4 separate regions of the Homo sapiens genome follow, and regions 1, 2 and 3 are each linked to region 4. The links are contacts of gene promoters, found by promoter capture Hi-C in human tissues and cell types (Jung and others, 2019). All regions are on one chromosome and are shown on one strand. Each heading gives the region's core, a stretch centred on a gene start or on the middle of the fragment in contact. The rest is flanking DNA. Distances are from core to core; before and after follow the strand shown. Region 1 overlaps GTF2IRD1 (GTF2I repeat domain containing 1). Region 2 overlaps GTF2IRD1 (GTF2I repeat domain containing 1). Region 3 holds the start of GTF2I (general transcription factor IIi). Region 4 holds the start of CLIP2 (CAP-Gly domain containing linker protein 2).

Region 1 (5,562 bases), core at 2,672-5,171, 270 kb after region 4:
ATAAAACACAAAGAGACAAACAAACTAAAAAACCATCCTGGATGCCTGCCAGGTCCCGGGCTTGCAGCCCAGCAGTAAATGCCACCAAGTCCTGCCCTGGAGTTGCCGATGTCACCCAGACAAAATCAAAATGTCATGTCAGGTAGAGATAACTGCTGTGACAGGATATAATGCAGAGTGAGGGGGAGAGAGGGACAGGAGGAACCTGGATAAGAAGGTGACATTGAAGCGGTGACCCAATGAAGGGAGAGGGCCAGCCAGGTGCATAAAGAGTGTGGGAGCAGGCCAGGCGTGGTGGCTCACACCTGTAATCCCAGCACTTTGGGAGGCTGAGGCAGGCAGATCACGAGGTCAAGAGTTCGAGACCAGCCTGACCAACATAGTGAAACCCCGTCTCTACTAAAAATGCAAAAATTAGCCGGGTGTGGTGGCGTGTGCCTGTAATCCCAGCTACTCGGGAGGCTGAGGCAGGAGAATCACTTGAACCTGGGAGGTGGAGGTTGCAGTGAGCCGAGATTGTGCCATTGCACTTCAGCCTGGGTGACAGAGGGAGACTCTGTCTCAAAAAATAAATAAATAAAAATAAAGACTGTTGGGACAGAGAAAAAGTCATGCAAAGTCCCTGAGGCAACAACGTGCTTGGGTGTTTGAAAGCTTGCAAGGTGCCCTTGCAGCTGGTACAGGGTGAGTGAGGGAAGGATGGTGAGGTTGAGGCCCAAGAGGTAGCAGGGGACCAGGCGTGTGGCCCACGCCTGTAATCCTAGCATTTTGGGAGGCTGAGGCAGGAGGATTGCTTGAGCTCAGGAGTTTGTGACCAGCCTAGGCAACATGGTGAGACCCTATCTCTATAAAAAAGAAAAATAGGCCAGGAGAGGTGGCTCACGCCTGTAATCCCAGCACTTTGTGGGGGTTGAGGAGGGTGTATCACCTGAGGTCAGAAGTTCGAGACCAGCCTGCCCAACATGGTGACACCCCATTTCTAAAAATTCAAAAATTAGCCAGGCATGGTGAGGGGGTCCTGTAATTCCAGCTACTCAGGAGACTGAGGCAGGAGAATTGCTTAAACCCAGGAGACAGAGGTTGCAGTGAGCTGAGATCGCGCCCCTGCACTCCAGCCTGGGCGACAAGAGCAAAACTCTCTCTCAAAATAAATAAATAAAAAGGTAGCAGGAGCCAGATCACATGGATTTTGGGCCAGCTTAAAGAGTTTGAATTTTATTTTATTTTTTAAAAAGTCTTAAGAGACAGTGTCTCATTCTGGTTTGTTTTTATTTTTGTTTTTGCTTTCTATGCCTATTCCCTCAAACCATAAACTAGGGGCACCCGGGCAGCTTGAGGTCAGGTGCCAATTCAACAGCAAGTCCTCATGAATGACATTTTTTATGGCTTTGTGCAGAGACACCTTGTGCTCATGAGCATTGGTTTTTTGTTTTTTGTGGGTTGGTTTTTTTGTTGTTGTTTGTTTGTTTTCTATTTTTTGAGACAGAGTCTCACTCACTCTATTGCCCAGGCTGGAGTGCAGTGGCACCATCTCAGCTTACTGCAACCTCCGCCTCCCGGGTTCCAGCGATTCCCCGGCCTCAGCCTCCTGAGTAGCTGGGATAACAGGCGCATGTCACTACACCTGGCTAAATTTTGTATTTTTAGTAGAGACGGTGTTTCACCATGTTGGTCAGGCTGGTCTCGAACTCCTAACCTTAAGTGATCCATCCACCTTGACCTCCCAAAGTGCTGGGATTAGAGGCGTGAGCCACCATGCCTGGCCTTTTGTGGGTTTTTTTTGAGACAGAGTCTCACTCCAGGCTGGAGTACAGTGGTGCTGTCTCGGCTCACTGTAGCCTCCACCTTCCAGGTTTAAACGATTCTCCTGCCTCAGCCTCCCGAGTAACTGGGATTACAGGCGTGAGCCACCATGCCTGGCCATGAGCATTTGTTTTAAGAGACAAGTCTTTCTTTAGCCCAGGCTGGAGTGTAGTGGCACAATCATAACTCACTGCAGCCTTAAACTCCTGGGCTCAAGCAATCCTGCTTCAGCCTCCTGAGTAGCTGGGACTGCAGGGGCACGCCACCACACCTGGCTAATTTTTACATTTTTTGTAGAGAAGGGGTCTCGCTATGTTGCCCAAGCTGGTCTCCAACTCCTGGGCTCAAAGCGATGCCCCTGCCTCAGCCTCCCAAAGTGCTGGGATTACAGGTTGAGCCACCATGCCCAGCCTTGAGCACTTTTTAAAGTCACGATGGCTTTCTCCACCTGTCATTTGGAAAGGGAGACAGGTCAGTGCAGTGGCCGACGGGAGAGGCCGTCTGGTGGGTTTGAGGCCAGCTCCTCCTGTTACTCCCTGTGGCCTTGGCAGCCGGCTGTGCTATTTAAGGGGAAGCACTGTCGCTACTCTGGCCTGGGACTCAGGGGCTCTGCCCAGCTTCTGCCTCTCTAAGTTTACTGCTGGGAAGTCACTTCCCCTTTCAGAACCTGAGTTCTCCCATAAAGAGGAGGGGCCTAAATGCAGTCCGAAGCCTTTTCTAGCTCCTGAGACTGTGGTTCAAGGCAGGGCTATGCTTCCCCTCCCAGCCCTGGCCCCGTGACCCCAGCTCTGTGCCTGGCACTGTACAGAAGCCTAAGAGATGCCCACCGCCAGAGCGGGCACCAAATCCTCATCTACTGGGGACCCCAGGGGTGCCCTCCCTGAGAGTTTGGCCTTTGGGCTCACTCCCAGGCAGAGACTCCTCGGAGTTGCTGCTTGATTACCCCTGTGACAGAGAGCTCATTACCTCTCCAGGCCCATTACCTCTCCAGAGAGCTCATTACCTCTCTGCTCCATGGCCTACCCTGCCATCCCCCGACAGCCCCCTTCTGGCCAGCATGATTTTCCCAGTGTCCTCTACCCACCACAAACCCCAGCCCCACAACAGGCTTGCTCTAACAGGACAAGTTGTGCTGAAGATGGGGCCTTCAGAAGCAGTGCTGTATGACAAAGAAGGTTGACTCATGTCTGGACAGGGCTTTCTGGAGTCTGTGGAGCTAAAGACATTAGCATAATACAGAGCTGGGCTTGGTCACTGGTGCTTCCGACTGCAGTAACACAGCAGCTCTCAGACGTGAGCCGTAGATCTCAGACCTTTCCAGAAGCTTGGAGTTCTTGCTTCGTAGTGGGCCCCGACTGTTTCTACTCTTTTCTTTCATTTTGAGACGGAGTCTTACTCTGTCACCCAGGCTGGAGTGCAGTGGTGCTATCTCAGTTCACTGCAACCTCTGCCTCCTGGGTTCAAGCCATTCCCCTCCCTCAGCCTCCCAAGTAGCTGGGATTATAGGCACCTGCCACCACACCTGGCTAATTTTTGTATTTTTAGTAGAGACGGGTTTCACCATGTTGGCCAGGCTGGTCTCAGACTCCTGACCTCAAGTGATCTGCCCTCCTCGGCCTCCCAAAATGCTGGGATTACAGGCGTGAGCTACTGCACCTGACCTTGTTTCTACACTTTAAACCAGCTCCACGGGAGGCCACCTGAGGCCACCTGCTCCAATCCCAGGCAGTGACAATCGTGCAATGTCCCTGGAGCAGGAGTGAGATATCAGATGGACCTGTTCAGGACTGGGGGGGGTCTCACTCCCAGCTGGATCCTTCAAGCCCAGCGCAGCCCCCCAGATTCCACATGTGGGGCGGCAGGGACTCCAGGCCTGAACTATGCATAGCCAGAAGGGTCCATTGCAGGGCTGTGTAGACTGAGGCCCAGAGAGGAGGGCTGAGCAGTCCCAGAGATGCTTGGAGGGACCTCTGTGATAGCCTCGCTTGTGTTTTCCAGGCCCGAGCTGCTCACTGAGGGAGTCAAAGAGCCCATCATGGATAGTCAAGGTACCCAGCGCGGGGTCGGGAGCCATGGTGTGGGCGGGCAAGGGAGGGCCCCAGGCCTCTGCCACCAGCCCCTCCTCCTGCTGCCTCTGTCCTGCTCCCATCCTGGCCCTGGCATTCTCCCCACACCCCCACATTGGGTTTCCCCTAACGATGCCATCTTGGGTCCCAGGAACTGCCTCCTCACTTGGCTTCTCTCCCCCTGCCCTGCCCCCAGAGAGGGATTCCGGGGACCCTCTGGTGGACGAGAGCCTGAAGAGACAGGGCTTTCAAGGTAAGGTTGAGCTCACGGGGAGGTCTGTTGTCCCAGCACCAGGACATTGACCTGGTTTGGGTTTGGAGGGCCAGGCTGGAAGTGGGGAGGAGCTGGCCCCCAACTTCAGGGCCTAAGGGACCAGGCAAGCCAGGTTGGCAGCCCAGGCCCGGCTGTACCCTGCCAGCTCTGTGTTAGAGACTCCAGGGGAGAGGGGGTGCCTACAGGTGGACGGTCGGGGGAGCCCAGGAGCCTGCCTGCCCCCTCCCTGCCCCACCCCCCAGAGGTAGCTGACACGCCCACTCCTTTTTCAGCAATCAGCTGTGGTCTTAGTGCTTTGAAATCAGAATAGGAGCCAGACGCGGCACCTCACGCCTGTAATCTCAGCACTTGGGAAGGTCAAGGTGGGAGGATCGCTTGAGGCTGGGAGCTCGAGACAAGCCTGGACAACATAGAACCCGTCTCTATGTCTATTTTTAAGAAAAGAAATCAGAGGCCGAGTGCAGTGGCTCACGCCTGTAATCCCAGCACTTTGGGCGGCCGAGGCAGGTGGATCACTTGAGGCCAGGAGTTCAAGACCAGCCTGGCCAACATGGTGAAACCCCGTGTCTACCAAAAAAATACAAGAATTAGTTGGGCGAGGTGGCGTGCACCTGTGATCCCAGCTACTAGGGAGGCTAAGGCGGGAGAATCGCTTGAACCTGGGAGGCGGAGATTGCAGTGAGCCGAGATCATGCCACTGCACTCCAGCCTGGGTGACAGAGCAAGACCCTGTCTCAAAAAAAAAAGAAAGAGAGAGAGAGAGAGAGATGGTGGTCTGGGATCCCTCCAGCACATGCTGGCACTTGTCTTTGTTTGTTTGTTTGGATGGAGTTTTACTCTTGTTGCCCAGGCTGGAGTGCAATGGCGTGATCTCAGCCCACTGCAACCTCCGCTTCCCGGGTTCAAGCAATTCTCCTGCCTCAGGCTCCCAAGTAGCTGGGATTATAGGCACGTGCCACCACACCCGGCTAATTTTTGTATTTTTTAGTAGAGACGGGGTTTCACCATGTTGGACAGGCTGGTCTCGAGCTCCTGACCTCAGATGATCTGCCCACCTCAGCCTCCCAAAGTGTTGGGATTACAGGCATGAACCACTGCACCCAGCTTTTTTTTTTTTTTTTTTTTTGAGACAGAGTCTTGCTCTGTCACCCAGGCTGGAGTGCAGTGGTGCGATCTTGGCTCACTACAACCTCCACCTCCCAGGTTCAAGGGGTTCTCTTGCCTCAGCCTCCCAAGTAGCTGGGATTACAGGTACGCACCACCATGCCTGGCTAATTTTTGTATTTTTAGTAGAGATAGGGTTTCACCACATTGGCCAGGCTGGTTTCCAACTCCTGCCCTCAGGTGATCCTCCTGCCTCAGCTTCCCAAAATGCTGGGGTTACAGGCATGAGCCGCCGCGCCCGGTCACACTTGGGCG
Region 2 (6,193 bases), core at 3,242-5,741, 300 kb after region 4:
AGGGTCGCGAGCTGATTGCAGAGCTGGGATTTGAACCCAGGCAATCAGTCTTGGGTAGACCACTGGGCTTGTGACCCTGGCCTTGAAGGGCCCGGTATTGCTCCTGCCCCTGCAGTGTCCTCAGCAGCTCTCTGAGGCGATTCTCTGATCCGTGTTTTTCCCGTGAGCAGATTAGACTCAAAGGTGACCGGGCATGCTGGAGCTGCCCTGCCCCACCTGAGGCCGAGGCCACCACTGCCCACAGCAGTCCTTGGGGAACTCCCTGGTGGCGACCTGGTGGTGGTGGCAGGAGCCTGGCTCTGTTGGGAAAGAGGACTCATGACCCCACCTGCAGCTCTCCGAGATGCTCAGCTGGTCTGGGCACGATGGCTCACGCCTGTATCTCAGCACTTTGGAAGGCCAAGGTGGGTGGATTGCTTGAGCTTAGGAGTTGAAGACCAGCCTGGGCAACATAGTGAGACCTTGTCTCTACAAATAACACAAAAATTAGACAGACATAGTGGCACACACCTGTAGCACCAGCTACTCAGGAGGCTGAGGATGGAGGATGGCTTCAGCTCAGGAGGCGGAGGTTACAGTGAGCTGAGATTGCTCCACTGCGCTCCAGCCTGGGCAACAGAGCCAGACCATCTCAACTCAAAAAAATAAATAAATAAATAAAGCTTGGCTGGGCCATCTGGGTTAGCAAGGATCTTAGCATTCTCCCTCAGGGCTAACCAGGGTGCGTGGGCGAGCTGTCTCGGTTGCAGCGGGGGCCACGATTCCTGTCGGGCAAGACTGGTGCCAGCCTGCACACCTCAGAGCCCAACAGGAATATCTGTTCAGATCGAGACGTTGCCCTTTCCCCTGCAGGGCACGGCTAGAGCACAGACACAAACCCAGTGTCAGGTCCCCAGACACGGCAGGGGACAGGGGAGTTGGTCTTCACCTGTGGTTCAGGTTCCCTCCCAGACAGTGAGTCACTTATGTGCCCAAGGAGCTGCCTCTGGTGCACTCACAGTTCCCAGAAGATCTGGGATGGGACTACAGGTGTGCACCACCATGCCCAGCATTTTTTCTTTTTTTTTGGTAGAAACAGGGTTTCCCTCTGTTGCCCAGACTGGTCTTGAACTCCTGGCCTCAAGCAATCCTCCCACTTCAGCCTTCCAAAGTGCTGGGATGACAGGCATGAGCCACTGTGCCCAGCCTGTAGTGCTTTTTGATATGTGAGATTAGATCCAGCAGGCCCAGAGTCCCAGTTGAGGAATGTGGAAACAGGCTCAGAGAGGTTGAGTGACTTTCCATACACCACACAGCATTAGGGATTAGAATCAAGATTGCCTTCCAGTCTGATGAGCCAGGGACTTTCCCCATACCTGGCCCTGGGGATCCCCCTTTTCCCCACTGTATGCAGGCATTCAAGCAGGGGCTTGTCCAATCCAGCTCCCACCAGAGCCTCCCCTACTCCATTTCCTTCAAAAACTCACGATTTAAAAAAATGTAGCCTGGGCAACATAGCAAGATCCCATCTCTACAAAAGATGGAAAAATTAGCTGGGTGTGGTAGCCCACACCTGTAGTCCCAGCTACTGCACTCCAGCCTGAATGACAGCAAGACCCTGTCTCTACCAAAAAAAAAAAACCACGTAATTCTCTTTACTCTAAATTAAATAAAAAGAAAGAGGTAGGAAAATGCAAGAACAGCTACAGAGAAAAATCAGTGTTCTTCCTGAGCTTGATGTTGACTGAGCTAGAGAATCCCACAGACAAGGTATATTGTGGGCCTTGCACAGTGTCTGCACGTAGTATGTGCCAAGCTTGTTTTTTATTTTTTAATTTTTGTTTGGTTGTTTGTTTGAAACAGGATCTAGCTCAGTCACCCAGGCTGGAGTGCAGTGGGGCAATCATGGCTTACTGCAACATTGACCTTCCAGGCTCAAGCAATCCTCCCACCTCAGCCTCCCAAGTATCTGGGATTACAGGCACACACCACCATGCCCAGCTAATTTTTCTTTTTTTTTCTTTTTTTTTTTTTTTTTTTGTGGAGACAGGGTCTTGCCATGTTGCCCAGGCTGGTTGCAAACTCGTGGCCTCAGTCTCCCAAATTGCTGGGATTACAGGCGTGAGCCACTACATCCGGCCAGTTCTTGGTGTTATTGACAAAGGCATTTAGCCCCACTCCACCCCTCCCACACTCCAGAGGTGGTCAGGACGCCTCCCCAAACTGCCAGCCCCCTCAGCCAGCCCGGCCCCACTTTCCTGACATGCACACTCCCACCACTTCTGGTCCACCGCCTGGGACCTGTGCCCCATATAGAATTGCCATAGTATCCTATCGACTGCCCCGTAGTGTCACTCCTGGTTAGCTGCAGCCTGGTTTAGGGTTGCACTTCTTCCCAGACCAGGCAAGACTTGGAAGGAAGAGGGGAAGTTTCCTGATTGGCTAAAGCATGTTGAGCACCTGAAATCACAGGATACTACAAGTTTCCTTGTGTCTTACTCACCGCTCACAACTGCCTTGGAGGTCCGTGTGATGAGCCCCAGCGTGCAGATGAGCCCACATCCTTGGAGCTTTGGGCCCCGTGTGGTGGTCACCTCCTCTGGGAAGTCCTCCCTGACTCCCAGCTGGGTCAGGATCCCTGCTATAGACCCCCGTGGGCCATGTAAACCAAAAGTGCCTGAAACAGGTCTCAATCAATTTAAAGATTTATTTTGCCATGGGGGAGGACACAGCCAGGAAAAAGAGACTCAAGCTGCAATAGGGTCTGTGGCCTGTGCTTTTTTCCAGAGTTTTGAGGACTTTGGTATTTAAAGGGGAAAGAGGGCCTGGGTACGGTGGCTCACAGCACTTTGGGAGGCCAAGCCAGGTGGATCACCTGAGGTCAGGAGTTCGAGACTGGCCTGGGCAGCATAACAAAACCCCATCTCTACTAAAAATACAAAAAATTAGCCAGGTGTGGTGGCGGGTACCTGTAATCCCAGCTACTCTGGAGGCTGAGGCACGAGAATCACTCGAACCCGGTAGGCGGAGGTTGCAGTGAGCCAAAATCATGCCACTGCACTCCAGCCTGGAAAACAGGGAGACTCTGTCTCGAAAAATAAAAAAATAAAGGGGGAAGAGGAATAGTTAATGATGTATTTATCCTGTGCTCAGTAAATCTGCCTTTTACATAAGATAAAGTAAATAGAGTAGAGGAAGTCATATAGGCATTTGTCTTGGGTAGACAGAGCAATGATTTCTATTCTTATCTTTGTCCCCTGCCTGTGAAGATAAGCTGTGAATTTACATGGCCAGGGTGAGGGAGGCCACCAGGGGAGCTAGGTGGCCTTCTATCTTGCAGCCATCTGTTTAGGAACAAAAGGCTATTGCGTGACTCAGTTCCCAAGCTTAACATTTCCCTTTGGCATAGTAAGTTTGGGGTCCCATGTTTTTTGTTTGTTTGGGTTTTTTGTGTGTTGTTGTTGTTTTGAGATGAAGTCTCGCTCTTGTCCCCCAGGCTGGAGTACGATGGCGCGATCTTGGCTCTCTGTAACCTCCGCCTCCCAGGTTTAAGCGATTCTCCTGCCTCCGCCCCCGGAGTAGCTGGGATTACAGGCACCTGCCACCACGCCTGGCTAAATTTTGTACTTTTAGTTGAGACGGGGTTTCACCACGTTGGACAGGCTGGTCTCGAACTTCTGAGCTCAGGTGATCCACCCACCTCGGCCTCCCAAAGTGCTGGGATTACAGATGTGAGCCACCGCGCCCAGCCTGTTTGGTGTTTTTTTTTTTTTTTTTTTTGAGACGGAGTCTTGCTCTGTCGCCTAGGCTGGAGTGCAGTGGCGCAATCTCAGCTCACTGCAACCTCCACCTCCCAGTTCAAGGGATTCTCCTGCTTCAGCCTCCTGAGTAACTGGGATTACAGGCATGCACCACCACGCCCAGCTAATTTTTTGTATTTTTAGTAGAGACGGGGTTTCACCATGTTGGCCAGGCTGGTCTGGAACTCCTGACCTCAAGTGATCCACCTGCCTCGGCCTCTGAGAGTGCTGGGATTATAGGCGTGAGTCACCGTGCCCGGTCTGGGCCTCGTCTTTGAGAGGCCTGCTAAGCTTCTTTCTGTCCTGCAGGTTTCGTAGAGCTCTGACTTTGAGTCTCGCTCTGTCCCGACACAGGAGAAGACAGAGGTGTGGCATTGTGGGCTGAGAGCAACAGATTAGAGGAAACTATCTTAAAGATTAAGCCTTCTTTCTACAGCTACTGTAGGGGAGCCTGGGCATGGTGGTTCACGTCTGTAATCCCAGCACTTTGGGAGGCCGAGGTGGGCGAATCACCTGAGGCCAGGAGTTGGAGACCAGCCTGAGTAACATGGTGAAACCCCATCTCTACTAAAAATACAAAAATCAGCCAGGTGTGATGGTGGGTGCCTGTAATCCCAGATACTCGAGAGGCTGAGGCAGGAGAATCACTTGAACCCAGCAGGCAGAGGTTGCAGTGAGCCAAGATCGCACCACTGCACTCCAGTCCAGCCTGGGTGACAGAGCAAGACTCTTCCAAAAAAAAAAAGAAAAAGAAAGAAACTGTAGAGGAATCTGAGACCTCAGGAAACCCAGGGCTCATGGTAGAGTGGAAAGACCAGGGCTTTGGGGTTGACACAGAGTACTCCTGGTGCTTAGAGGCTGTGTGACCTTGGGCAAGTTTCTTTACCTCTCTGAGCCTCTGTGTCTTTGGCTGCAGTGTCTAGGAAAGCATCTGCACACAGTGATGTGTGTGATCCAGGCCATCCTTTCTCTGTTCTGTGCATGCATGGCCATGCCTGCTGAGAATCCTGCCACCAAAGATTCCTCAGTGGCATGGGGACAGATGGAATGTGCTGTTGCTTCCCTGCAGGCTCTAGGAGCTGGTCCTTGGGCCCAGGACTCCATCACTGTTGTCTGCATGGATTTGGACAAGGGTGGCCTTGATTCTTCCCACATCCTAGTCCTGAAAGGAAGGCCCGTGTTGGGTCACAGGAGAAGACGAGGGTTCTAGGGGATGTGGAGCGTGGGGTCTTTGTGTGGCTGAATTAGAGGCATTACTCCACGAGATAGGGACACGGGAGGAGGACGTTGTCTGGAATGGCTGATGTTTGCAGTGTCTCTGGGCACGCAGGGGGGCTGGCGGGCCGTGCCTGAAGACAGATCAGCAACTCAGAGATGTGCAGAGATTGCTGAGTGTGGGTGTGGACGGACCAGGCCAGGGACCTGCAGGGTTTGGGAGGACCTGAGGTGGTGGGTGTTGGAGCCCTGGGAAAAGGAGGAACCAGGCCAAGCAGGTGCCCAGCCTCTGTCCTGTGGGAAGCTCCCTGCTCTTTGGGGCAACCCCCACATGGGGAACAGGGCCTCCATTCTGGCAGCTTGCGCACGGGAGGCCAAGCCACCCAGACGGGGTCAGCAGACTCTAAGCAGCACAGAGCACCACGCCAGGAGATGCAGTTCCCAAGGCAGCCTCCTAAACAGAAGTGAGCTCTTCCCAGAGTTTTCAAGATTAAAAGAGCCAGACACAGTGGCTCACAACTGTAATCCCAGCACTTTCGGAGGCTGCGGACAGGAGGATCGCTTGAGCTTAGGAGTTCGAGAACAGCCTGTGCAACAGAGAGAGACTCTCTCTACAAAAAATTTTAAAAAAACTTAGTCTGGCATGGTGATTCATGCCTGGAGCCCCAGCTACTTGAGAGGCTGAGTGGGGAGGATTGCTTGAGCCAAAGAGTTCAAGGCTGCAGTGAGCTATGATGGCACCACTGTACTCCAACCTGGGAAACAGGGTGAGACCCTGTCTCAAAAAACAGGAGTCAGGCTGGGCACAGTGGCTCACGCCTGTAATCCCAGCACTTTGGGAGACCGAGGCAGGCAGATCACCTGAGCTCAGGAGTTTGAGACCACCCTGGCCAATATGGCAAAACCCCATCTCTACTAAATATACAAAAATTAACCGGACGTTGTGGCAGGCGCCTGTAGTCCCAGCTCTCAGGAGGCTGACGCAGGAGAATGGCTTGAACCTGGGAGGCAGAGGTTGCAGCGAACCGAGACCGTGCCACTGCACTCCAGCCTGGGCAACAGAGTGAGACTCTGTCTTGGAAAAACAAAAAGAAAAAAAAACAGGAGTCATTTTGCTCCAAAGACCCATCAGTCTGCTCTGCCCTGAATCATCCGGCCCTGGCTCCCTGCCTGCGTCTAGCTCCACCCCACAACATCTC
Region 3 (6,133 bases), core at 3,089-5,588, 370 kb after region 4:
CCCAGGTTGGAGTGCAGTGGCGCGATATCGGCTCACTACAACCTCCGCCTCCCGGGTTCAAGCAGTTCTCTGCCTCAGCCTCCCGAGTAGCTGGCATTACAGGCGCCTGCCACCACGCCCGGCTAATTTTTTGTATTTTTAGTAGAGACAGGTTTCACCATCTTGAGACGGAGTCTCGCTCTTTTGCCCAGACTGGAGTGCAATGGCGCGATCTCAGCTCACTGCAACCTCTGCCTCCCCGGTTCAAGCGATTCTACTGCCTCAGCCTCCCGAGTAGCTGGGATTACAGGCACATGCCACCATGCTCGGCTAATTTTTTTTGTATTTTTAGTATCGATGGGGTTTCACCATGTTGGCCAGGCTGGTCTCAAACTCCTGACCTCGTGATCCTCCCACTTCGGCCTCCCAAACTGCTGGGATTACAGGCATGAGCCACCGCGCCAATCACATGCTATTTCAAAGCAGTCAACGAAGCTCTAAGCCCAGAGTCTAAGCGAAGATGCATCTGAGTTGGTGGAAGTGCTCACGTGGGGTCCAGATCCATCTCTAGCTTGGCCAAGGCCCATTTGACCTGGCTTTGTTTCCCACCAAACAGAAGAATGGAAAAGTCACATCATATGGACGCTTATCTGAAGACTAAGCTAAACATTAACAAAAAGAGAGGGGGAAATAATTGAAATAACATGGATGGTTCTGCCAGCTGTTGGACTCTGTACTTATGTCCTGACTGACCATGAGCTGAGAGCCGCAAATCTGCTCTTGCTGAAGCCCCAATCCAGTCTGCATCTCTTGGTATATGCATCCTGTGATTCTAGTATTTTTTTTTTTTTTTTTGAGACGGAGTTTCGCTCTTGTTGTCCATGCTGGAGTGCAATGGCATGATCTCGGCTCACAACAACCTTTCCCTCCCAGGTTCAAGCGATTCTCCTGCCTCAGCCTCCTGAGTAGCTGGGATTACAGGCATGCGCCACCACGCCCGGCTAATTTTATATTTTTAGAAGAGATGTGGTTTCTCCATGTTGCTGAGGCTGGTCTCGAACTCCTAACCTCAGGTGATCTGCCTGCCTCGGCCTTCTAAAGTGCTGGGATTACAGGCATGAGCCACTGTGCCCAGCCCGATTCTAGTCTTTAAAGGAGGATTTCCTGGCTGGGTGCAGTGGTTTACGCCTGTAATCTCAGCACCTTGGGGGGCTGAGGCAGGCAGATCACTTGAGGTCAGGAATTTGAGACCAGACAGACCAACATGGTGAAACCCTGTCTCTACTAAAAATCCAAAAATTAGCCGGGCATGGTGGTGCATACCTGTAATCCCAGCTACTCGGGAGGCTGAGGCAGCAGAATCGCTTGAGCCCAGGAGTTGGAGGTTGCAGTGAGCCAAGATCGCACCATGCACTCCAGCCTGGGCACCGGAGTAAGACCCCGTCCCCTCCCAAAAAAATCAATAAATAAAATAAAGGAGGACTTCCTACTACATCATTTTTAGACACAAATCAACTATTATTTTTCTTCTGTTGCCCAATCCCCAAAACAGTAATCTGATCCTACATTTGAAAAAAAACCTGGGCCCAGTGCAGTGCCTCATGCCTGTAATCGCAGCACTTTGGAGGCCACGGCAGGAGGCTTATTTGAGCCCAAGAAGTCAAGACCAGCCTGGGCAACATAGTGAGACCCGTCTCTACAAAAAACGAAATTAGCTGGGTGTGGTGGCACATACATGTTGTCCCAGGCATTTGGGAGGCTAAGGTGGGAGGATGGCTTGAATCTGGAGTTGGAGGCTGCAGTGAGCTGTGATCGAACCACTGCAGTGCAGCCTGGGTGATACAGTAAGACCCTGTCTCAAAAACAGGAAAAAAAAAAAGTAAAACAAAACCCCAGCTTTGCAGAGAGATAGTATCCAAAGTGATTTATAACAATGGCCACAATTAATGTAGTATCTATGCCACTAAGATGAAGGAGAAATTGGTTGACAAGTGTTCCAACAAGCCGCAGTGAGCCAGACCTTAATGAAGACAGAACACGCAAGATCTTTATGACTGTAACACATGAATTTGAGGGTTACAAACCTTAATGGCAAAATGCTCAGAAAAACGCTTTGTCTGCATACACATTGCCTCAACAGAGACAGCTTTCTGACTAGAGGTAATTCAAAACCAGCTCATGTTGACCTAACCGTTTTAGGAATTGCTTCAGTCTCAAAGAAGTTGGAGTTGTTTATGAAGAGGCAGCAAAATTCCACTGTGGGCCCGGTGCGGTGCTCACGCCTGTAATCTCAGCACTTTGGGAGGCTGAGGAAGGCAGATCACTTGAGGTCAGGAGTTCGAGAACAGTCTGGGCAACATGTTTAGTAGAAACCCGTCTCTACTAAAAATACAAAAATTAGCTGGGCGTGGTAGTGCACGCCTATAATCCTAGCTACTCAGGAAGCTGAGGCAGGAGAATCACTTGAACCCGGGAGGTAGACGTTGCCGTGAGCCGAGATCGCGCCACTGCACTCCAGCGTGGGTGACGGAGCGAGGCTCGGTCTCAAAAAAAAAATTCCACTGTGAACCACTAAACAAATTCATAGAAGAAAGGAACTACCTTCCAAACGTTTTCACGATGATAAGAGTCATCTTGGCTAAATAAACTTCTGCCTTGCTAACTCACTTTGTAACATCCCCCCAAATTCTACTCCACGACTCCACTATACCCAGGAAATCCTTTCCCTGACCCCTCCAGGTGGAGAAACCACTCTCTCAACAAAAGATACTCACTGAAGTCCACAGCAGCTGAAATCTGCATCTCGTAGGCTGGCTGCTCTTACTAGAGTGAGTTATAGGCTTCTCAAGAGTTAAATTTGTTCCTAAATATATGCCAGTGGCACGTGGTATTGGGAATAGAGAATTTAATTAAATATTACTAAATGTCAATGAAATACAAGTGCAAAAAGAAAGTTGCTCTTGTGCAAACTTAATGAATGACTTTCGAGACAATCGACAAAGGAGAGTCACAATCTTATTAGGCAAGGACCGAAGGGATCCTAGACATTGTCCGGGAAATCGCAAAAATTCAGGCTTCTGTAATCAGATTGCTTCTCCGGTGAGCTTTACGCTCTCCATGTATTTTTCAAAAAAAATCCAACATGAAAATTCTAGAGGAGGCTTTATTGGGTGCGGTCTGTGCAAGAGAGACGATGGGGAATGCCAATCGGAGAACCCAGATTGAAAGGAAAGGTTTTTGGAACCCACATCAAAAGACTGGCTGCTCGGAAAGTTTTCTCGCTAGCGACAAAGGCTTGGAGGCTGGAAAAAGCGTCGTGGTCGCCACCTACCGAGAAGCGGCGGGTGGGGGGAGGATGGCCGTCGTGGCCCGAATCCCCAGTGGGTGGTACTGGGTGGGGGGGCGGGCGGGAATCAAAAAACCACTCAATCTCGTGCTTTACATAAACATCTAAAAATCGTCGGCCTCGGGGTTGTAAAGTTTTGGAGTTTAACTTAGGTGAACAGTAATGTCTCTCCATTTTCAAAACCCACCGGCTAATTCAAGTTGAGAAGCAAAAAATAGTGGTAGGGGGAGGAGTTTGAGTTAAATCGCATCGCGGTTGACAGAACAAAACAGGAGCTACGAGTCAGGATTTCTGCTCCCACTCCCTTGCAAGTTTCCTTCCAAATCCTGAGGGAGAGATAGAGGCGGAGGGTCTGGGGGAGGAATTAAAACACAAGGTCTCCTCCCCTCTCGCCTGTCCGAACTTGGGGGCAACGGTCTCTTTGGAGGCCAGCTTGGAAAACACTAGAGAGGAGTTCTTTGTGTCCTGGAGGGTGGTGCAAGGCGGAAGGACTCCCCTTTTGCAGAGCAAGGAGGGCGACGGCCCAGCCCGGGGCTCCCCGGCTTTTGCAGCTTCCCTGCCTCGCAATTTGCAAGGAATGTGGGGTGCAAGAGCAAGTGGCGGACTTGGACGGCGGCTGGCGCTCGGTGGGGACGACGCCGGAGCCACCACCCGTCCAGATTTCCGTTTCTGCACCCCGGCTCCCCTCCCCCACCCGGGCGGCCGCGCAGGCCCCAGGTGCAGCCATGTTCTCGCTCCCACCACCCTCGCCTCCATTGACAGCCCTTGCTGGAGAGGGCCGGGCGCCGCGCTTGCCTCGTCCTCGGGTTCGGGGCTAGCCGGCGCGGTGCTTCCTGGGAGTTGTAGTCCACGACCGCCGCCGCCGCGTTGACGGGGAACGCATCCGAAACTACAACTCCCGCTGGGCGGCGCTGCGGATGCGCAGGCGCAACGCGCCTTCGAGGAACAAAAAAAAAAAAAAAAAAAAAAAAAAAGAAAAAAAAGAAAAAAAAAAGGAGGAGGAGGAGGAGGGTGAGAGAGAAGCTGGGAGAGCAGAGAAAAGGGGCCACCGGTCGCCCCCCCGCTTCCCCGCACGCGCTCTCCAGCCGCGGCCGCCCGCCTGCCGCGGTCACCCCGGCCTCTGCCTCTGTCCCCCAGTGATCGGATCAAGGCGCTGAGCGAGGCCCTGCCTGCGGGGCGGCCATGCGGCGGTGACAGGAGCGCGACCGACACGCACGGGCCCCTCGCCCCCTCTCGCCTCCCGTCCGCTCGCCAGCTCCCCTCAGCCGAGGCTGCTCCGCGGCGGCCGCAGCCCGCGCGCGGCCCACACTCGCCTCCCCTCGGCACCCCCGGCCCCGGAGCTGCCTGGAGGCGGCCGCACTCGGGTGAGTCCCTCTCGCCTCATCCCCGCGCCCCCCGCCCCCGCCTCGGGGGCCATTGCGAGCGGGGGCCTTTATTAGAGACTTTGCCCCGCCGGGGCCTGCAGGGACAGGGGCCTGGGAGCCGCGGCCCGCCGCGCGCGGTGTGGGGCCTTGGGGGGCGCCCGTGCCGCCTCCCCCTACCCCCACCCCCACCGCCTCGCCGGGTCTCGAGCCCCGCCGGCCTTGGCAGTGGCCGAAACGAGGCGATGGGGGTGGGGCGGCACGGACGCGGTCGCGGGGGACGACAGTGGCACGCGCGCGCCTCAGTGCGCGTGGGGGAGGGGCGCGCGCGCCGACCGGCGTGCGGTGGGGGGGCGCCTCGCGCGTGCGATCCCGCGCGCGAGCGAGCGAGCGGCCCTGCGGGCTGCGCATGCCCCGCCGCGCTGATTGGCCGGCTAGGCGGTGCGGGGGCGCGCGCGGTGCCAGGCCCGAGCCGTCGTGGGGTCGCGCTCGCCTGGTGTATCTGGGGCTCCTGCGCCGGGGCAGCAGACGCGCGGGATTGGCCAACCGGCGCGGGGGCGGGGCCGCGCGTTGCCTGGTAACTGCGGCGGGCGGGGGAGCGGGAGCGCTGTCCCCCGCCCCGCCCCGCTCCCAGGTGGAGTCCGCAGTGGGCTTTGTCCCGGGCCGGCCCGGCGCGCCTGCCCCGCGGGGCCTGTTCTTTGGGGGAAATAAACACAATGACCGGAAGGAAAACTTCAGCTTTAGGCCATGAAAATTAAGCCGTCTGGGTTCAGCCAGCACCCAGACGACGGGAGTGCAGAGGAAGAAGGAAAATGAAATGGAAAAAGCTGTCTCCTTCCCGCTCCCCGACTTCTCCACTTTTTCTTAATCCAGCTTTTGCTTTTTCGTGTAGCGAATTTTGTCCTCCCTAGGTTATGGATTTGCGCTGATTTGCGGCTGGGGATGTTCACAGGTGGGGTGCTGTTGGAGTAGTGTCCACTCTTGGCGATGCGCAGCTCTTGCTGACTACTGACCTCCTTTTTTTAAAAAAAATTATTTGTGGAGATGCGTTCTCACTTTGTTGCCCAGGCTGGTCTTGAACTCCTAGGCTCAAGCGATCCTCCCACCTTGGCCCCCCATAGTGCTGGGATTACAGGTGTGAGCCATCGCTTTCGGCTTAATTTTCTTTTTTTTTTTTAGAAACAGGGTCTCTCTGTGTTGCCCTGGCTGAAGCGCAGAGTGGCACAATCATAGCACATTGCAGCCTCCAACACCTGGGCTCCAGCGATCCTCCTGCCTCAGCCTCCTCAGTGGCTGGGACTACAGGCGCATGCCATCATGCCCTGCTAATTTTTTTTTTTTTGAGATGGAGTCTCACTCTGTGGCCCAGGCTGAAGTGCACTGGTGTGATCTCGGCTCACTGCAACCTCTGCCTCCCGGGTTCAAGCCGTTCTCCTGCCTCAGCCTC
Region 4 (6,161 bases), core at 3,426-5,925:
TGTGATTACAGGCGTGAGCCACAACACCCGGCCTCATGCAGTTTTAAGCTTAAGCTTCTCTCGTAACAATCCTCAGCCATGTCAGCTTTCCTTCACACAGCAGGGGAGGCCTTGTTATCTTCCCTTGGGAAATCCGGGGAGGCTGCATAGAAAAAGCCCCCATGCATCTTGGAAACCCCCAACGAGGGGAAGTCCCCCTATCACCTGGCAGCAGAGAGCTACTATGGCCTTCCTTTACCACTGGGCTGTTTCCACTAGCACTGTACCAAGCCAGAGGGAAGTACCGGAGCTTCCTCCAAGACCGATATACCCCAAGGTGGGGAGAACTGGATAAAGGCAAAGTCCATGCAGTTGAAAGTAAGGGTGTGGCCACCGGCGTGATAGCCTTAGCTGGTATCTCCGTGGTGATGCAATTCCCAGCCTGTGCCACCTGCCACCCTGTGCAGCCTCTGCTCTGCTAGGCAGAAAGGTCACAGCAACATCCAATCATTTCAGCAGAAGCGGTTTGGGTTTAAGTTTCTTTTATTAGTCCCCAAAGCAGCACATGCCTGTTGCAGAAAAATTCAGAAAAGGGAAGAAAAAAGTCCCACGGATTCCCCCCACCCAAAGCCCACCACAGTTACCAGTTTTTTTGAGACAAGGTCTCACTTTTTCACCGAGGCTGGACTGTAGTGGTACGATCTTGGCTCACTACAACCTCCGCCTCCCGGGTTCAAGCGATTCTCCTGCATCAGCCTCCTGAGTAGCTGGGATTACGGGCATGTGCCACCATGCCTGGCTAGCTTTTTGTGTTTTTAGTAGAGACAGGGTTTCATCATGTTGCCCAGGCTGGTCTCCAACTCTGGGGCTCAGGCAATCCTCCTGCCTTGGCCTCCCAAAGTGCTGGGATTACAGGCATGAGCCACCACAACTGGCCCACAATTTTAAAAATAAAATAAAATAAAATGGGATCTTGCTCTGTTGCCCAGGCTGGAGTGCAATGGTATGATCATAACTCACTATAGCCTCCAACTCGTGGGCTCAAGTGATCCTCCCACCTCAGTCTCCCCACTCGCTGGGATGACAGGCATGAGGCACTAAGCTTGGCTCCATATCCGCAGTTTCATGAAGTGTATTTTCCTGGTGGGTGTAAATACGTAACTGTTTCCCCACATTATAACAAATGCCTTGTAAACAGCAGTTCAGACACTGCAAACATATCCCATCCTGTAGCTGTCCTATGGATTCTAAAATGAAAAATAAAAAAATAAAAATAGGCCAGGCGTGGTGCCCAGAGCCTGTAATCCCAGCGCTTTGGGAGGCCGAGGTGGGAGGATCACTTGAGGCCAGGATTTCGAGACCAGCCTGGGCAACATAGAAAGCCTCTGTCTCTACCCCTGAAAAAGTAAAATAATAAATAAACAAATAAATAAATAAATAAATAGTATACCAGAGAGATCGCCACCTGCAAAGCAGCCCAGGCCTCTCCCGTGGCTGGCCCATTGCAGGCCTCAGAGAATTCAGCTCTGGCTCGAAAATTATTCCCAACTCTCTCTTCCCATGAAAAATCCTCCCGTGAGGCTGCTGGTCACAGCCGGCGTCAGCAAGAAAATGACCAAATCAGCAGTTTCAGTGGAGACAAAAGGCCTGGGTGAGAGGTCGGCTGGGAGAACACCCCCTCCAGATCCCCCCGCCTGCCTCCCCACCCATCACGGAGGCCTGATGCCAGGGCAGGGGCCAAGGCCAGGACCCCAACCCTCACATCAGACAGCATCAGGTTCATCTACTGAAAGAAGCAGAAAAACTCGAACGCAAACTTTTTTTTTTTTTTTTTTTTGAGACAAAGTCTTGCTCTTGTTGCCCAGGCTGGAGTGCAATGGTGCGATCTCAGCTCACTGCAACCTCCGCCTCCCGGGTTCAAGTGATTCTCCTGCCTCAGCCTCCCAAGTAGTTGGGATTACAGGTGTGTGCCACCATGCCCGGCTAATTTTTTGTATTTTAAGTAGAGACGGAGTTTCACCATGTTGGCCAGGCTGGTCTCGAACTCCTGACCTTGTGATCCGCCCGCCTTGGCCTCCCAAAGTGCTGGGATTACAGGTGTGAGCCACTGTGCCCGGCCCCCCAAATGCAAACTGTAACAAGACAGAAGCCTGTCTTCTCTCATCTGGAGCAAGAACAAAAGGTGTCCCTCTCAGGTGACTTGCTCTTTGAAGCTCCACTCACCAGCGGCCAGGTAAGGTCTGTTGACCGCAGGCTGTTGCTCTGAATAATACTGGGGGCCATCAGTGAGGGAGGCAGTACCTGTGAAGGTTGGGGGCCCCTGCCTACCTCCTGAGGCACATGTGGGAGGCTAGATCTGCTGGGCAGGGGCTGGTGAGCTCAGGTACATCCCAGCAAGACCCATGTCACCTTGGCAAATCCCTGCCCCATCCCGTCCCGTCCCGTCCCATCCCATCCCATCCCTTCTGTTGCCCAGGCTGGAGTGTAGTGGTATGATCTCCACTCACTGCAACCTTCGCCTTCTGGGTTCAAGCCATTCTCAAGCTTCACCCTCCCGAGTAGCTGGGATTACAGGCATGTACCACCACACCCAGCTATTTTTTGCATCTTCTGTAGAGATGGGGTTTCATCACGTTGGCCAGGCTGGTCTCGCACTCCTGACCTCAGGTTATCTGCCCGCCACCACCTCCTAAAGTGCTGGGATTACAGGTGTGAGCCACTGTGCCTGGCTGGTTTATAACTGTTGATATACAGGTTATGCATCCCAGCCACAAGGAACAATTAGCTCCCTGTTTCCTGAACACTGCCCTCTCCACCCTGAGTCCCCTCCCTCCCTATGGGTTCACACCTCCTACAGAAGCCCAGTCTTTCTGGAGTTCACTCTGAACCTCCTCCCTTATTAGTCTCCAAGTCTGGCTCTCCACACCAACTGGGCACCCCCTCAGGGCTGACCCCATGCCCAGCCTCCATCATTACAGCATTGCATGTTCGCTGAACTGAATTGAAACACTCTCCCCAATTTACAGATGGGGAAACTGAGGTCAAAATGTTTAGGCCAGGCACGGTGGCTCACAGCTGTAATCCCAGCACTTTGGGAGGCTGAGGTGGGAAGATCATCTGAAGCCAAGAGTTTAAGACCAGCCTGGACCCCAACATAATGAGACCCCATCTCTATAAAAAACACAAAAAATTAGCCGGGCATGGTGCATGCCCGTAGTCCCAGCTACTCTGGAGGCTGAGGCAGGAGGATCATTTGAGCCTGGGAGTTTGAGGCTGCAGTGAGCTGTAATCACACCACTGCACTCCAGCCTGGGTGACAGAGTGAGACCCCTTCTCTAAAAAAAGGTTCACTCACTTCTCAAAGATTATGGATACCAAGACAGTTGAGGGGTGGTAATGTTAACTTAGTAAGTTCATTCATTCATTCAACAAATATTACTGGATGTCTACCCTCTGCCAAGCATTGCACTGGGTCCCTTAGGGGATAGGAACAAGATCGTATGTGGCACTTCTCTCCCGCAGAACAGTGGTCTCACCATACAGACCACAACCTCCCCCAACACCCACATTCCTGCACTCAAGGGAAAAGCAGGGACATTTAAGCTGTGCTTTGAAGGGGGAATATGATTTGTCAAACAGAGAAAGGGGGCAGGGCAGGACTGGTAGAACGGCCAGCTAGGTCAAAGGCATCCAGGCGAGCTTATCAAGGGGGGACAGAGGGAAACCAAGCCACAGAAGCCAACCGCAGCCTGGGCATGGACAGGGGCTGGGGCTTGGTCACTGTTTAGTTCCTGAGCTGTCACTTGGCATCTGCCTCTCCACGCAGGAGGGGACCTGGCAGCTGCCTCAACTCCTCTGAAATAGCAGTACATGCATCCTGTCCTGGGGAGGGTTCATTTGTATCTTGGAAGCTGATCACCATGAGATCCTTTTTTTTTTTTCTTTTGGGACGGAGTCTCGCTCTGTCACCCAGGCTGAAGGGCCGTGGCTTGATCATGACTCACTGCAGCCTCGACCTCCTGGGCTCCAGCGATCCTCCCACCCCAGCCTCCCCAGTAGCTGGGACCGCAGGCGCGCGCCCAGCTAATTTTTGTATTTTTTGTAGAGACGAAGGTTACGTTGCCCAGGTTGTTCTCGGACTCTTGGCCTCAGGCGATCTGCACGCCTTGGCTTCCTGAAGTGCTGGGATTACAGGCGTGAGACACTGCCCAGGCTATGAGATCCTTGATAACCATGAGACCCTGTGCCACAGTTCCCCACCCACGCTGGCCCCAACACAGACCTGAAGTTTTCGCCCCAGCTGCACTGTCCCCCTCCTCATCCTTTCTGTCCAGCGCCAACAGCATCTCACCTTCCCAAGCTGCCGTCCTTCCCAATGACCAGAGACATCTTTGCAAGCATAGCATGGCTGGAGGATGCGTTTCACCAAACGCGATGTAAGCACCACCAGGTGCCCAGCGCGGAGGTGGATGTGGGCGAACCCTGGACGCCCCACAAAGGACAGCTGCGGCCTGGGAAGGGAAGGAGATGGAGCGGGGAGAGGGGGAAGAGGTTGCTCCGCGTTTTCCGCCCGCCCGCCTGCTTTCCGCGAGGCACTGAGGCCTGAAAACCGCGAGGCCGCCCACGCGCGCCTGACCCGCCCCCCCCTCCCGCCCGCCCCAGGCCCCGCCCTCCCGCGCCCGCCCCTGCGCCGGCCCCTTTTGTTCCCTCCCGGAGCCGGGCCGCTGGCTCCGCTGGCTCCGCTGGCTCCGCGGGCGCTCAGCTCGGCTCGGCCGCGGGGCGCGCAGGCGGCTGCTGGGCGGCCTCGGTGCGCGCCTCCCGCCTTCCCAGAGACGTGGCGCGAGGCCCGGGCCCTGAGCACCTATCGCGGGGATCCCCGGCGCCAGGAGGGGGTGCAGCCGGTGGGCAGCGCCGCGCAGGGAGGGGCCGCAGCATCCTCGCCCCCCAGCGCGCCCGGGCCCGAGAGGAGGAGGCCGGGGCTCTCCGGGCCTCCCGCCGCTTAGCCTGATGCTGGAAGGACGAAGGTAGGGGCTGCTGGAGGGGCCGAGGGAGGGGGTCGCGCGGGCAACAAAGGACGGAGAGATGCGGGGGGCGGCGGCCTGGCCGAAAGCGGGGCTGCGGGCCCGGAGGCATTGTCGGGGCGTGGGCGGGGGCGGGAGGGTTCGAGGCCGGCCGGTGGGCGTGGGCGGGAGCTGGCTGGGGTGTGCCCCAACTTCCCCGTTGCTTGTAGGAGAGGAGGGGGCACTGCTTGGGGTGCCAGGGTTGGGGGCTATTCCCGGGCTGCGGGTCCCCCTGTTGAAGGCATCACCAGCCTCATCGGGGTCCCTACCCTCGGACGGGGGTTTGGCCCTTCTGTTGGAGGGTCGCCCGTACCCCCTTCCAAGGGCAGAGCAAGACGGCTGGACGCGCCGCAGGGCTCTCTGGGCTCACAGAGCCTGGGGAGCACAGCCTGGTGGGCGCGGCCATGCAGCCCCCATCTCCAAACCTGGGGTCTGGGAGAACAGGGACTGCCCCCCTCTCCTCCCTGCTACACCCTCTGGGGTCGCCTGGCCGATGGCCTTTGCAAAACTTGGTTGAAGTGCTTGGCTGAGGTGGGGTAGGAGGAGATTGAGGCGGGCGGCTTCTCTCAGGGGGTGTCCCCCCAAGCTGGCGCTGGTGGCTGGTGAGGCAGCAGATTTTCTGCCCTCCTCCCGGGGAGGGGCGGCGGCCGCGGAGGATGCTTGGCTGAACCTTCAGGGCCCGCCCGTTTGGACCTTTCAGGCAGAGCTTGGGCCGAGCGGGTGCCCACTGGGCACTGCCACGCAGGCCCCAGCCCCACCCTGGGAAGGACGGGCAGAGGGAGCACCTTGGGGGGAAATCACCCACCCAGCAGTGTGTCCCCCAACGTCTGAGACCCCTCCTCTCACTTCTGGGTGAGAAGTGGGGGTCTGGGATGAGGGGGTCTGCCGTCACTCTTGCGCGATGCCTGAGGGAGGTGGGTGGGGTGGCCTAGGGCTGTGGGCAGAGGAGGAGGAGGGTGCGGGGAGCACCACGTGTGTGCTTCAGAAGCCTCTTCCCTTTCGGTTGTAAATGTAAACAATAAGCCCTTCATTCAGCTGCTGTTACCTGGCCTGGCACTTCTAGGGGCTGGCTGGTCCACAGGACAGCAGCCTCGGTGTCCCCAAAAAGTGCAGCCCCGGGGG

What was found. Contacts are between HindIII fragments. The study calls those that stand out against the background at their distance.
Region 1: a fragment that was not itself captured here is called in contact with the fragment with the promoter of CLIP2 in region 4 in 2 of the 25 tissues and cell types used here (dorsolateral prefrontal cortex and lymphoblastoid cells).
Region 2: a contact is called between a fragment that was not itself captured here and the fragment with the promoter of CLIP2 in region 4, in 1 of the 25 tissues and cell types used here (heart right ventricle).
Region 3: a contact is called between the fragment with the promoter of GTF2I here and the fragment with the promoter of CLIP2 in region 4, in 1 of the 25 tissues and cell types used here (spleen).

What each region holds. Positions count from the first base shown.
Region 1 is chr7:74,551,373-74,556,934 of GRCh38, forward strand. It overlaps GTF2IRD1 (GTF2I repeat domain containing 1), which reads left to right. Exons shown (of 27, transcript NM_005685.4): 18 at 3,802-3,851; 19 at 4,066-4,122. Among named protein-coding and RNA genes, the nearest start is that of WBSCR23, 22 kb to the left of the region's middle. The HindIII fragment of the contact is 4,062 bases long and covers 1,891-5,562 here.
Region 2 is chr7:74,581,372-74,587,564 of GRCh38, forward strand. The region is part of intron 22 of GTF2IRD1 (GTF2I repeat domain containing 1); the gene reads left to right. Among named protein-coding and RNA genes, the nearest start is that of MIR10525, 12 kb to the right of the region's middle. RefSeq lists enhancers at 1-146, 5,829-6,193 and a silencer at 109-403. The HindIII fragment of the contact is 6,527 bases long and covers 1,229-6,193 here.
Region 3 is chr7:74,653,380-74,659,512 of GRCh38, forward strand. It overlaps GTF2I (general transcription factor IIi), which reads left to right and starts at 4,339. Exons shown (of 35, transcript NM_032999.4): 1 at 4,339-4,689. RefSeq lists silencers at 3,889-4,048, 4,419-4,598, 4,619-4,908, 4,979-5,498 and enhancers at 4,129-4,248, 4,269-4,318. The HindIII fragment of the contact is 40,491 bases long and covers 1-6,133 here.
Region 4 is chr7:74,284,732-74,290,892 of GRCh38, forward strand. CLIP2 (CAP-Gly domain containing linker protein 2) reads left to right here and starts at 4,676. Exons shown (of 17, transcript NM_003388.5): 1 at 4,676-5,003. It overlaps LOC107986742 (a long non-coding RNA gene), which reads right to left and starts at 4,576. Exons shown (of 2, transcript XR_001745024.2): 1 at 4,331-4,576. RefSeq lists enhancers at 53-292, 5,030-5,674, 5,675-6,161 and silencers at 4,595-5,064, 5,085-5,154. The HindIII fragment of the contact is 6,317 bases long and covers 1,803-6,161 here.